2 separate regions of the Homo sapiens genome follow, and region 1 is linked to region 2. Evidence: promoter capture Hi-C in human tissues and cell types (Jung and others, 2019). All regions are on one chromosome and are shown on one strand. Each heading gives the region's core, a stretch centred on a gene start or on the middle of the fragment in contact. The rest is flanking DNA. Distances are from core to core; before and after follow the strand shown.

The links. Contacts are between HindIII fragments. The study calls those that stand out against the background at their distance.
Region 1: a contact is called between a fragment that was not itself captured here and the fragment with the promoter of CCSER1 in region 2, in 2 of the 25 tissues and cell types used here (adrenal gland and small bowel).

The regions. Positions count from the first base shown.
Region 1 is chr4:89,960,665-89,967,131 of GRCh38, reverse strand. No RefSeq gene overlaps it. Among named protein-coding and RNA genes, the nearest start is that of MMRN1, 69 kb to the right of the region's middle. The HindIII fragment of the contact is 9,139 bases long and covers 1-5,880 here.
Region 2 is chr4:90,126,018-90,132,339 of GRCh38, reverse strand. CCSER1 (coiled-coil serine rich protein 1) reads right to left here and starts at 4,946. Exons shown (of 11, transcript NM_001145065.2): 1 at 4,509-4,946. RefSeq lists silencers at 3,829-4,078, 4,189-4,388. The HindIII fragment of the contact is 9,294 bases long and covers 1-6,322 here.

The sequences.
Region 1 (6,467 bases), core at 62-2,561, 160 kb after region 2:
AAGCCCAAATTTCATCCTCATCTGTTACCTATCTCGGCATAATTCTCATAAAAACACACGTGCTTTCCCTGCTGATCGTGTCCGATTAATCTCCCAAACCTCAATCCCTTACAAAACAACAACTCCTTTCCTTCCTAGGCATGGACAACAACTCCTTTCCTTCCTAGGCATGGTTAGTGCAGTCAGATTTCTTACACAAGAGCCAGGACAGGACCGCACCTTGTAGCCTTTCTGTCCAAACAACTTGACCTTACTGTTTTAGCCTAGCCATCATGTCTCCGTGCAGTGGCTGCTGCCACCCTAATACTTTTAGAGGCCCTCAAAATCACAAACTCTGCTCAACTTAGTCTCTTACATTTCTCATAACTTCCAAAATCTATTTTCTTCCTCATACCTGACGCATACACTTTCTGCTCTCCGGCTCCTTCAGCTGTACTCACTCTTTGTTAAGTCCCACAATTACCATTGTTCCTGGCCCGGACTTCAATCTGGCCTCCCACATTATTCCTGATACCACACCTGACCCCCATGACTGTATCTTTCTGATCCACCTGACATTCACCCCATTTCCGCATATTTCCTTCTTTCCTATTCCTCACCCTGATCACGCTTGATTTATTGATGGCAGTTCTACCAGGCCTAATCACCACACACCAGCAAAGGCAGGCTATGCTATATAGTACAAGCCACTAACCCGCATCTTAGAACCTCTCATTTCCTTTCCATCATGGAAATCTATCCTCAGGGAGATCACTTCTCAGTGTTTCATCTGCTATTCTACTACTCCTCAGGGATTATTCAGGCCCCCTCCCTTCCCTACACATCAAGCTCAAGGATTTGCCCCCACCCAGGACTGGCAAATTAGCTTTACTCAACATGCCCCGAGTCAGATAACTAAAATACCTCTTAGTCTAGGTAGACACTTTCACTGGATAGGTACAGGCCTTTCCTACAGGGTCTGAGAAGGCTGCCACAGTCATTTCTTCCCTTCTGTCAACATAATTCCTCAGTTTAGCCTTCCCACCTCTATACAGTCTGATAAAAGACCAGCCTTTATTAGTCAAATCAGCCAAGCAGTTTTTCAGGCTCTTAGTATTCAGTGAAACCTTTATATCCCTTAAGGTCCTCCGTCTTCAGGAAGAGTAGAATGGACTAAAGGTCTTTTAAAAACACACCTCACTAAGCTCAGCCACCAATTTAAAAAGGACTGGACAATACTTTTATGACTTTCTCTTCTCAGAAGTCAGACCTGTCCTCAGAATGCTACAAGTTACAGCCCATTTGAGCTCCTGTATAGACGCTCCGTTTTATTAGGCCCCAGTCTCATTCCAGACACCAGACCAACTTAGAATGTGCCCCCAAAAACTTGTCATCCCTACTATCTTCTGTCTAGTCATACTCCTATTCAGCGTTCTCAACTACTCATACATGCCCTGCTCTTGTTTACACTGCCGGTTTACACTGTTTCTCCAAGCCATCACAGCTGATATCTCCTGGTGCTATCCCCAAACTGCCACTCTTAACTCTTGACGTAAATAAATAATCTTTGTTGGCAGGACTATGCCGAATCTCCTTAGGCACTCTCTAATCAGATGTCCTGAGTCTTCCCAATTCTTAGACCTTTTATACCTGTTTTTCTCCTTCTCTTATTCCATTTAGTTTTTCAATTCATACAAAACTGTATCCATGCCATCACCAATAATTCTAAATTACAAATGTTCCTTCTAACAACCCCACAAATATCACTCCTTACCACAAAATCTTCCTTCAGCTTAATCTCTCCCACTCTAGGTTCCCACACCGCCCCTAATCCCGCTCGAAGCAGCCCTGAGAAACATCGCCCATTATCTCTCCATACCATCCCCCAAAATTTTCGCTGTCCCAACACTTTACCACTATTTCATTTTATTTTTCTTATTAATATAAGAAGACAGGAATGTCAGGCCTCTGAGCCCAAGCTAAGCTATCATATACCCTGTGACCTGCACGTACACATCCAGATCGCTTGTTCCTGCCTTAACTGATGACATTCCGCCACAGAAGAAGTGAAAATGGCCTGTTCCTGCCTTAACTGGTGACATTGTCTTGTGAAATTCCTTCTCCTGGCTCATCCTGGCTCAAAAGCTCCCCTACTGAGTACCTTGTGACCCCCACTCCTGCCTGCCAGAGAACAACCCCCCTTTTTCCTTTACCTACCCAAATCCTATAAAACGGCCCCACCCCTCTCTCCCTTCGCTGACTCTCTTTTTGGACTCAGCCCCCCTGCACCCAGGTGAAATAAACAGCCATGTTGCTCACACAAAGCCTGTTTGGTGGTCTCTTCACACGGACGCGCATGAAAGATACCACTGAAAGAAAATTTATGAAAATGGTAAGTTTTTTTTCTCTCGTTAGGCAAATTACTAGTTTCAAGAGTTAAGAGGGAAATAAATGAGAACACATACTCACGAATAATTTTTTAAATGGAGGCATAATCCCAGTCCTTTTTCTTCCCATTTTGTGACACTAGTATTGAAACCGCCTTTGCAAAATTATGACTCAAACAGTGAAACAGATCCAATTTAACTGACTCCATCTTTCTTCTAACCTCCAAGCTGTCCTTGTTCATTCCTGACCGTAGGCTGAACTAACTTTGGGAGAAACTTAGTTTGTAGTTTATAGTTTAAACAAAGACAGCCTTTCCCAAAGCAGACTTCCTTCTTGCATGGGGACTAGACTAACATTAGCCACGGGATTAGAAATTATGGTTTAGGAGTCATGTAGCTCCTAAGATCAGTGCTTGAGATATGTTGCAGACCCTGCACTTGATGGATCAGCTAGCCCCACCCAGATCAATAAACTGGCTTGTCTGATCTTGTGGCCCCCACCCAGGAACCGACTCAGCACCAGAAGACAGCTTCCACTCCCTGTGATTTCAGCCCTGACCAATCAGCATTCCTGACTCACTGGCTCCCCACCAACCTACCAAGTTATTGTTAAAAGCTCTGCTCCTGGCCAGGCGCAGTGGCTCACACCTGTAATCCCAGCACTTTGGGAGGGCAAGGCGAGTAGATCATAAGGTCAAGAGATCGAGACCATCCTTCCTGGCCAACATGGTGAAACCGTCTCTACTAAAAATACAAAAATTAGCTGGGTGTGGTGGCAGCGCCTGTAGTTCCAGCTACTCAGGAGGCTGAGGCAGGAGAATTGCTTGAACCCAGGAGGCGGAGGTTGCAGTGAGCCGAGATTGTGCCACTGCATTCCAGCCTGGCAACAGAGAGAGATTCCGTCTCAAAACAAAAACAAAACAAAAACTCTGCTCCCTGAATGCTCAGGGAGACTGATTTGAGTAATAATAAACTCCGGTCTCCTGCACAGCTGGCTCTGTGTGAATTACTCTTTCTCTACTGCAATTCCCCTGTCTTGATGAATTGGCTCTGTCTAGGCAGTGGGCAAGGTGAACCCCTTGGGCAGCTACAGTATTAAGTTACTCACAGAATGACAATTTTTTTTTCTTCGATTTTAAGTTCAGGGATATATGTGCAGGATGTGCAGGTTTGTTACATAGGTAAACGTGTGCTATGGTGGTTTGCTGCACAGATCATCCCATCACCTAGGTATTAAGCCCAGCACCCATTAGCTATTCTTCCTGATGCTCTCCTGCCCACCTCCCCCACCTCTAATGACAGGCTGCAGTGTTTGTTATTCCCGTCTATGTGTCCATGTGTTCTCACTGTTCAACTCCCACTTGTAAGTAAGAACATGCAGGGTTTGGTTTGCTGTTTCCTTGTCAGTTTGTTGAGGATGATGGCCTCCAGCTCCATCCATGTCCCTCCAAAGGACATGATCTTGTTCCTTTTTATGGCTGCATAGTATTCCATGGTGTTTATGTACCACATTTTCTTTATCCAGTCTCTCATTGATGGCCATTTTGAGTTGATTCCATGTCATTGCTACTGTGAATAATAGTGCTGCAATGAGCATACATTTGCATGTATCTTTATAATAGAATGATTTATATTCATTTGGGCATATACCCAGTAATGGGATTGCTGGGTCAAATGGTATTTCTGCCTCTAGGTCTTTGAGGAGTCACCACACTGTCTTCCACAATACCTGAACTAATTTACACGCCCACCAACAGTGTAAAAGTGTTCCATTTTCTCTGCAACCTCGCCAGCATCTGTTGCAGAAAGGCAATTTCACAAAGTCCAAAGGATGGACTTAAGATGTGTTCAAAAGTATGTCTCAAAATGTGTTGAAGATAAATTTGCAAGTTTTCAAAATGGCAACTGGAGTGAGTAGAGACAGTAATGGTTTCCTATTATAGATTTCCTCTGCTAGTTTTTCACATCATCTAGGTTAGAGGGAGGTTGAAGAAATGGTAACAGGATCTTACATCTCTTTGGCTTTCACTCTGCCACACTATCTCACACTGTGTCTGTCCACCCTCTATCTCTTAACACGGACCAGTTTACCAGTTTGGATATACAGTTGACCCTTGAACAACATAGGTTTGTATTGTGTGGGTCCAATCATACACAGGTTTTCTTTTCAACATTTTTTAAAATTAAAATAGAGACAAGGTTTCACCATGTTGACCAGGCTGATCTCAAACTCCTGTGCTCAAGCAATCCAGCCCCCTTGACCTTCTAAATTGCAGGTATTACAGGCGTGAGCAACCGGGCCTGGCCTATACACAGGTTTTCTTAAGCCTCTCTCACCCCCCACCCTGGAGAGAGCAAGACCAACCCTTTCTCTTCCTTTTCCTCCTCAGCTTACTGGACATAAAGATGAGGATGAAGACCTTTGTGATGATCCACTTTCACTTAATGAATAATACATATATTTCCTCTTATGAATTTCTTAATAACCTTTTCTCTAGCTTACTTTATTGTAAAAATGCAGTATATAATACATATAACATATAAAATATGAGCTAATTGACTAGTTGATGTTATCAATAAGGCTTCTGTCAATAGTAGACTATTCGTAGTTAAGTTTTTGGGGAGTTAAAATTTTCATGCAGATTTTTGATGCACAGGGGGTCAATTGTAGTTTTTTCCTCCTTCTCATTCCCCTCCTTTCTCTCATTGTCATCCTCCTTCTCTTCCTCTTTCTCCCACTTTCCTTCCTCTTCCTCCTCCTTATTTCTGTTCTGTTCTTTTGTCCCCTACCTCTAATTCTTGTTCTTTTCTTGCCTTTGTTATTAACTTCTGCCAGGTAGCCACCAGAAGATGAAAAACAATAGAGAAATAAAACATCCAGGAGGTTTGTTCCTGAAGTTTGTATTGCTTTATATTTTATAATTATAGAAAAAATGATATTATGCCTCTAAAAGTGTAGTGATATAAGGAAGATTAGTCACTCTGGGTAATGTTCACATCAAAAAGAAAATGACGAAAGCAATTCTGCATTATTATTCACTGTTGAATGTGGTCACTCCCCCAAGGCTGGAACCATTTGGCCCTATTGAAAATATTTTTCTCACAGGGTCATTTGCCAAGTCAATTTCTCCATTGGTGTGGTTAACCTAAAACAATCATGAGATCTATAAATTTAGAAAGGGAGACTTTATTTCTTGTAAAAGGTTACAGCCTTGCGAGGAGCCCATCTGGCAGGCTGGGAAGTGTGCCTCCAGGTGAAGCCATTTGCAGGCACTTTGAGGAAAGGAGGGGTAAGACAAGAATTTAAGTTGAAAAGGTTGGCCAAACATACATATTCAACAGATTACAGGAGGAGCTATGAATATTCATGAAGGTAGTCTTGACACATGAATATTAAGTAAACATGCATGTAATATATGACCCTTGTTTACCTTGGGGTGCAACTTAACATTTAAATGTGTTACAGTTAGATCCTATACATCAAAAGATGAAGGAGAGATACAGAGGCACTCAGCCATAACCAGTCCATGGTCAGTGGTCTTATCAGGAGACAGTTACTGAAATCAGTCTCTTGCCCAATCAAAGCTGTAGTTATGGCTTGTGGAGCAGGGGCCAGGGGCCAGTTAGTCAGCGTGTGGTAGAGTTGCAAATTGTTTTAATTTTGCTTATCTCAAGGCAGTGCTTGTTTAGTTGCTAGAAAAAACAACAACAACAAAAAACCCTTGTGGCAGTTAAAATATAGTTTATTCTTTAAGTATAGGGGTGTATGATTTAACCCTTGCCTGGCATGGCCTTAGTTGCTGTTTATAATTTAATATCTCATTGCCACAAAGAGTCTGTTCTCTGTCAGTCTTGTGATCTTTATTTTAACATCAATGCTGGTCAACTGTTGTGTCTAGACCCCAAAAGAGAGGAGGTATTGTTAGGGACAGGAGGCAGAGAAATTCTAGGCAGAAAGGGCAGGGTTCCTGCCCAGGGCCCCACCCTCAAGCCTGAAATCTCAGACCAAAGTGAGAACTTTACATCCCCATTTTCCTGCTCGAATGTCACCTTTTCCAAAACCAACCCTGGCCTGCACCGACCCCCATCCTGTTCCCATAA
Region 2 (6,322 bases), core at 3,697-6,196:
ACAGATTTTGTCACTGTCCAATAGGGAAATCATGCAGAAGCTGTCAGTCATACAGTGGACGAGATTACATTATCGAAATGATACACCTGTGACATATAGTCCAAAACCAAATTCAAAAGGTACCAATTAACAGATAGGCTAGTTTGTACCCTAACTACATGGGGAATCATTCCATTCTTGCATGAATATAAAATTGGTGATTAAATAGGCTTTCACTTTTGTAATAACTCTTATCTATTCACTGTCAACAAAATATATATATGAAAATATTTTAATTCAACTAATCTGAAAGTAATTCCATTTGGTTATTTATTGAAAGTCATGTCTAATATTTGTGCAATTTCTTTACTGTCACCAAAACATACTTCTGGGGTGTCATATTGAATGTACAGGCTCAAAGTCAACTCAGATGTTTCCCTTTTATTCTTGAAATGAAGAAATGCATTTTAAGCAGTTTGTCTAAAATCAACCTATATACACAAAGAAAAAAACAACTAAGTTTAGAGACAGGTCATGGTGTTATTGTTAATACAATTTATTTATCAGAAGATAGTTAAAATAGCCATAAAATTGTTGCTAAAATTCTAAAATTTTCACTATAGGCTCCGTATCATAGCTCTATATTTATGGCAAATAATATATGGATAGATTAACTATTATGTGGCTGCATACAATAACTTTAAATAAAATCTAATCTAATAGATTCAATAAATCTAAGAAGTTTAAAATAAACTATTATATGAAATATATTAATAGACAACACATTTTATATGAAGAATAAAATGTTGAGTATTCAATAGATGCTCACTATTAATACTGTTATTCTTTTACACATCATCACACTTCTTTAGAGCAAACCTAAAAAGATTTGCTTAGGGAAATACCGAAAACACCTCACTATAAAGAGGTGTGCCACTTTTACTCAACACATTAGTGAGATGTGGATACATTTAAATATTTAAAGTACATATTCTCTACAAGAACTCTATTGCACTACTGTAGTAATACAAGTACATATTGTCTATTAAAAGGCAATATAAGCCAGGCGTGGTAGCTCACGCCTGTTACCCCAGCACTTCGGGAGGCCGAGGAGAGTGGATCAACTGAGGTCCGGAGTTCGAGACCAGCCTGGCCAACATGGTGAAACCCCATCTCTACTAAAGTAAATACAAAAATTAGCTGGGTGTGGTGGCGCGTGCCTGTAATCCCAGCTACTCAGGGAGCTGAGGGAGGAGAATCACTTGAACCCAGGAGGCGGAGGTTGCAGTGAGCCGAGATTGCGCCACTGCACTCCAGCCTGGGCGACAAGAACGAAACTCCATCTCAAAAAACAAACTAACAAACAAAAAGACAACATAAAGCTAAAGATTTGTCTTCTTAAATGTGTAAATATTAACAATTAAATTCAAGAATAGAATGTGGGCAGGGCGCAGTGGGTCACGCCTGTAATCCCAGCACAGGAGGCCGAGGCGGGTTGATCATGAGGTCAGGAGTTTGAGACCAGCCTAGCCAACATAGCAAAACCCCATCTCTACTAGAAATTCAAAATTTAGCTGGGCGGGGTGGCATGCGCCTGTAGTCCCAACTACTCCGGAGGCTGAGGCAGGAGAATCACTTGAACCCGAGAGGCTGAGGTTGCAGTGAGCCGAGGTAGCGCCACTGAAATCCAGCCTGGGTGACAGAGCAAAAATCCATCTCAGAAACAAACAAAAAAAAAGAATAGAATGTGTAGAAGGATGTACATCCAAAACAGACTCAACCTGCACTCTGCAAAATATCCAGCAATATCTTAATTTATATCAAAACAAACTTATCTTCCCTTATATGTTCTTTTCTATTATTCCAGGAGACTTGCATCTTATACCTTATATTTTTCTTATCCACAATGTACTAATCCTGCTTATCCTTTAACATCAAGATCAAGCAAGTCTTACCCACCCCCGAAGCATTCTCAAACAAAATCCAGTATGAAATGTTATTGTCATGTTCTGAACTCCTGTAGTACTCATTAGACATGTAATCTCTTATTGTTACGGGTTGTTAACTCTACGCTCAAGCATGAGCATCAGATTCCTCCCACATGGCAAGTAAGTTCCTGAAAGACAGGGAACAAGGAATCTCCCGTTCCTCCCCAATGCCTAGACAGTAGTACTTTGCAAACGTTAGGCCCTTTATTATGAGCATTATGATGAGTAATAAAATGCAATAAAGGGTTGAATAACTATTACTGTAAAAATATAACAAATTTTTCATTTTCTACTTTGTTTTATCTAAATTAACATTCTATGGTATAAATAATGTATCTTTAAAATAATAAACAGTTGCTGATTCTCTTAACTGTCAAAAAACAAAATACTCATAAATAGGACTTTTAATGATTGCAATAATACAGTTCATCAATTACATTTTTTAATTCCCTATTATATCTATGTTCAAATAGTTTGGGATAGTTGAGGTAATAACCCTCCGAATGGGGTTCTCCATCTGAGTTCTAACCTAATATTTAAAGCTGCACATGCTTCCGTGTTGAAAATGTATTTCAAAGTAATATAAATCTAACAAAATCAAAATATCAAATCCTTAACTCTGCTTTGTTTTTCAAAGAACAGGACTGTTTAGGAAAGCAATAAAACAATACAAACAACAGTTGGTTTGTTTTGATCAAAATAACTAATTAATTTAAATGAAGACAAATCACTCTGACAATAGGTTGACCAACTTCTCTTTTTTCTCTGTGAAACTATTGAAAGTGTGGTTACAACATGGAATTTCAATATTTGAAAAACATTGTCTTGGCAGGCTTTTAGAGACATTTCAGTTTGCAATATTAAGGATACTGTCCTACTACTAAACCCAGTCACAGTTCTATAAAAGTACAGGTTGCTACTTTTAAGAGAAAACATTCATTTTATAAGCACCGTGACAGGCACTGTCCCAAGGCATCTTTAAGTTTCAAGTTACGTATCTGGAACATGTACCTGTTATAAAGCAAACAGAAAGAGAAACCAAGACAAATTATATTATAGCCTAGATTACCAGTATTTTAGGTCTTCCCTTAATAACCAGTTTTGAAGGAACCAGTGATAACTGACCCCCACCTAGGTGTCCTCTTATCCGTTTTCCCTAAGGCTGTTAATAAAACCAGCTTTACTTTAAACGTGTACACATTATTTTTAATAGTCCTTGAGGGGCAGAGAAGGGAGGATGTGTGTTACATTTCAATAGGAAGGTATTCAACTGTAAAGATTTCAGAAATGAAAGCTGTTGAAACCAAGTAGGTATTTTCTGACTTGTAAGTCCTACTGACTGCCTGAAAAGGTAAGAGGGGTGGAGAAGAGGACATAAAAACATTAAAGGGCAAAGAATCTGTAACTTCTAAGAAGTATTTTTTTCTACCTGTAAAAATATGAGTTTTTTTTTTACTTCATTTCATATTCCATGTCCCACGAGAGGAAGGGGAAGCATAATTGCTTCTAATTCTGAGGCAGGGAGAGGAGAGAGAGAGAGAGAGAAAGAGAGCAGTTCAGGATACACTAAAAGGAAACCCCAAGAAATTTCACAACTCTTTGCCATAAATAGCCTTTCTTCTCACTCTGGATACCTCCTCCTTTACATCAGCAAGGCTCAGCCTCCACGCACGCAGAAGCACCATTCACAAATCCCTCCGTCACCCTTACCCCTTGCTGGCACCGTGTGTACGAGTCCCTGGGACACAAGCCAAAAGTCGAAGGGGCCAGGGGGCCACATGCGGTTTCAGCTTACGGCTGACTTTCTGCTCAGGTGAACCAACCCACTGGTTAGTCCAGAGCGCGCGCGCGCGCGCACACACACACACACACACACACGCACACAACCTGGGGCCCTTGACGCTCCACCACAAAGCAAGTGGTTCAATCTAAGTCGCTGCCGTTACTGCTGCCTCTGGGCAGGGTCTTGCTTCCAATCCAGGAAACTGGCGCCAGAGGACAAGCAGGCGGAGGCAAGAGGTGGTCCCGGCCCCGCACTGCGGTTCCTCCGGGAGCCCCTGGCTCCCCGCCCCCTCCTCCCCTTCCCCCTCTTCGCCGCCGTCCCCGCCTCAGCACCCGCAGCCCGGGGCGCCAGCGCTGACCGGTCGCCTCTACCTGCGGGACGCGAGTGGCGAGGAAGGGGAGCGACCCGAAGCCTGCGCCAACTCTCGCCGCCTTGGCCAGCGCTCCGCATCGCCCTGGAGCGGCCGCCGCGGCCGCAGGCAGCAAACCACGCAGCAGCGTGGAGGAAATGGCCACGCGGCGCACTGGGAGTCGCGGGCCGGTGGTGAGCGAGCCCGCCCGCCTCCTTCCCACCCCGCCCGCAAGGCCAGGTCTCTGCGCCGAGCACGCCGGGCCTGGGCGCGCGCTGCTCGCAGGCGGCCCCGACACGGCGCGGTCACCTGCCGAGCGGTCATCCCCGCGTCCGCCTGCGGCCGGCCCCGCAAAGCGGCGACGCGACGCGCGACCCGCTGAGCGCTGAGGCACCAGGGGCGTTACTACCTTGAGGGCTCCGTGCGCTTGTTAAGGCTCCTCCCGGGCACTCAGGGATTTATGTCTTCGGGGCACGGGGGTGTCCTTCCTGGTCCCCCTCCTCTGCCCTCCCTCCCCTTCTCGGCTGTTGGGCTCCTCTCCACTCCCAGTTGCACAGAGTCCAGCTGCGTTATTTAATAATCCTCCTGCTCCTCCTGCCTGCGCCAGCGGAGCTGCTCTGCCCGAGCCACCGCTTCCCAGTCAGTCATGTTGAGACAGAGAGAGAGAGAGAGGAGAGGCGGATTGGCAGTAGGTCGGCGACTATTTGTGGTGAGGGAGAGAAGAGCAGAGCAAGAGGAGGGCAGGGGAGGGACGTGGGGAGGCGCTTCCAAGTGTGTGAGTGCGCGGAGTGTGACTGTGTGGGGAGCGCGAGATCCACCTCCCCGGCAGGCCGCGCTCCGGGGCTGTGAGGAGGGCGGGCCCAAGCGCGGCCTTTATACAAGGAGGAGTGTGGTGGGCTGGGCGGGGCGGCTTGGAGGGCGGTGCCCGGCCCACTGCGTCCGCCGGATTCCACGCACGCATCCTCTGGCATCGACGCGCGCACACCCACTGCTGGCCCGCTGCTGAGTTTTCATTTTAGGGGAAGCAGTATCCCACCGTGCTGACCTGGCCTTTTCCCCCAGTCCATCCTAGTGCTTATGTGGAGTTCAAGTGCATAGGCAGGTCAAGACTAAAGAATAGGGGAAGTCTGAAGAGACGTGAAGTGACTGCGGGGATGCTGGAAATAAATGCACTGTATTTCTCCTCTCCAAGGTTCCGATGTTATCTTTTTTCTCTTCCTCCTGTAAGGGAAGGAATTACCAGATTCTTTCGCCGCTTTTCCTTCTCACCCACACAATTCACATCCTGACAAGTGTCTTCATTCCTCAGTAACAAGAAAAGAAACCTAGCTTCTTTCCTTTAAGCAGGTCACACCTCCCAGGAACCATTTGCAGCAATCAATTCTGTAAGATAATGCAAGCACTGCGACTGTGTCCGAGAGTGGAACTTGTGTTCCTACAAGGAAGGCCCTACACAATACAGGCATTACAAGAGAATCAGCTCAATTTGACATCATTTGACTGATGGTCCCCTGGAGAAAATTTGCCAGTTTAGAAATCGAAAAGACTTTTGATGCATGGTTCTGTTGCCTACATAATTTATTTTCCCCTGATCCTCTCTCCCCTTGCACTGCCTCATTTCCTTTCAGGTTTACACTAAGTACTGAACTCTTTCCCATCCATCCCCTTCTTTATCTCCACTCCAGTATATTTATGCCTTTAGCAGGCAATACAGCAAATGTAGTGCATTTAATTCTGTGTGTGTGTGTGTGTGTGTGTGCGCGCGCGCATCTGTTTTTAACCCATTCTGGTAGAATGTAGGACCATTTCTAGGTAGAAAATGCATCCCCAATATTAAGTTTGTACGCCTAACATCACCTCCCTTACCTTCTGCCCAGATTACAAGATGTTGTGATCAGGTGCACTGAGGTATTGAGAAAAACTTCCAGAAATCAAGTGATCTACAGTTTTTTCAAGGTGTGTTTGTGTGTGCGCGTGCGCGTGCGCACGCTCTGTGTAATCTAACTGGCTATGATCTAACTTCTGAAATGTGGTTATATTGGGAATAAAAGCAAGATGTATTTTTTAAATGAATCTGAGTGGTCAATGTATATTACAGCATGGGGACAACTCTGCTTTTGGGAGACAATTATAGGAAACATTTTTCATAAATTAGACAAAAGGAAGATAAGATTTAGGAGGCTACGGAGGAGGCGGCAAGGTTGACAATTCAGTTGTCCTATC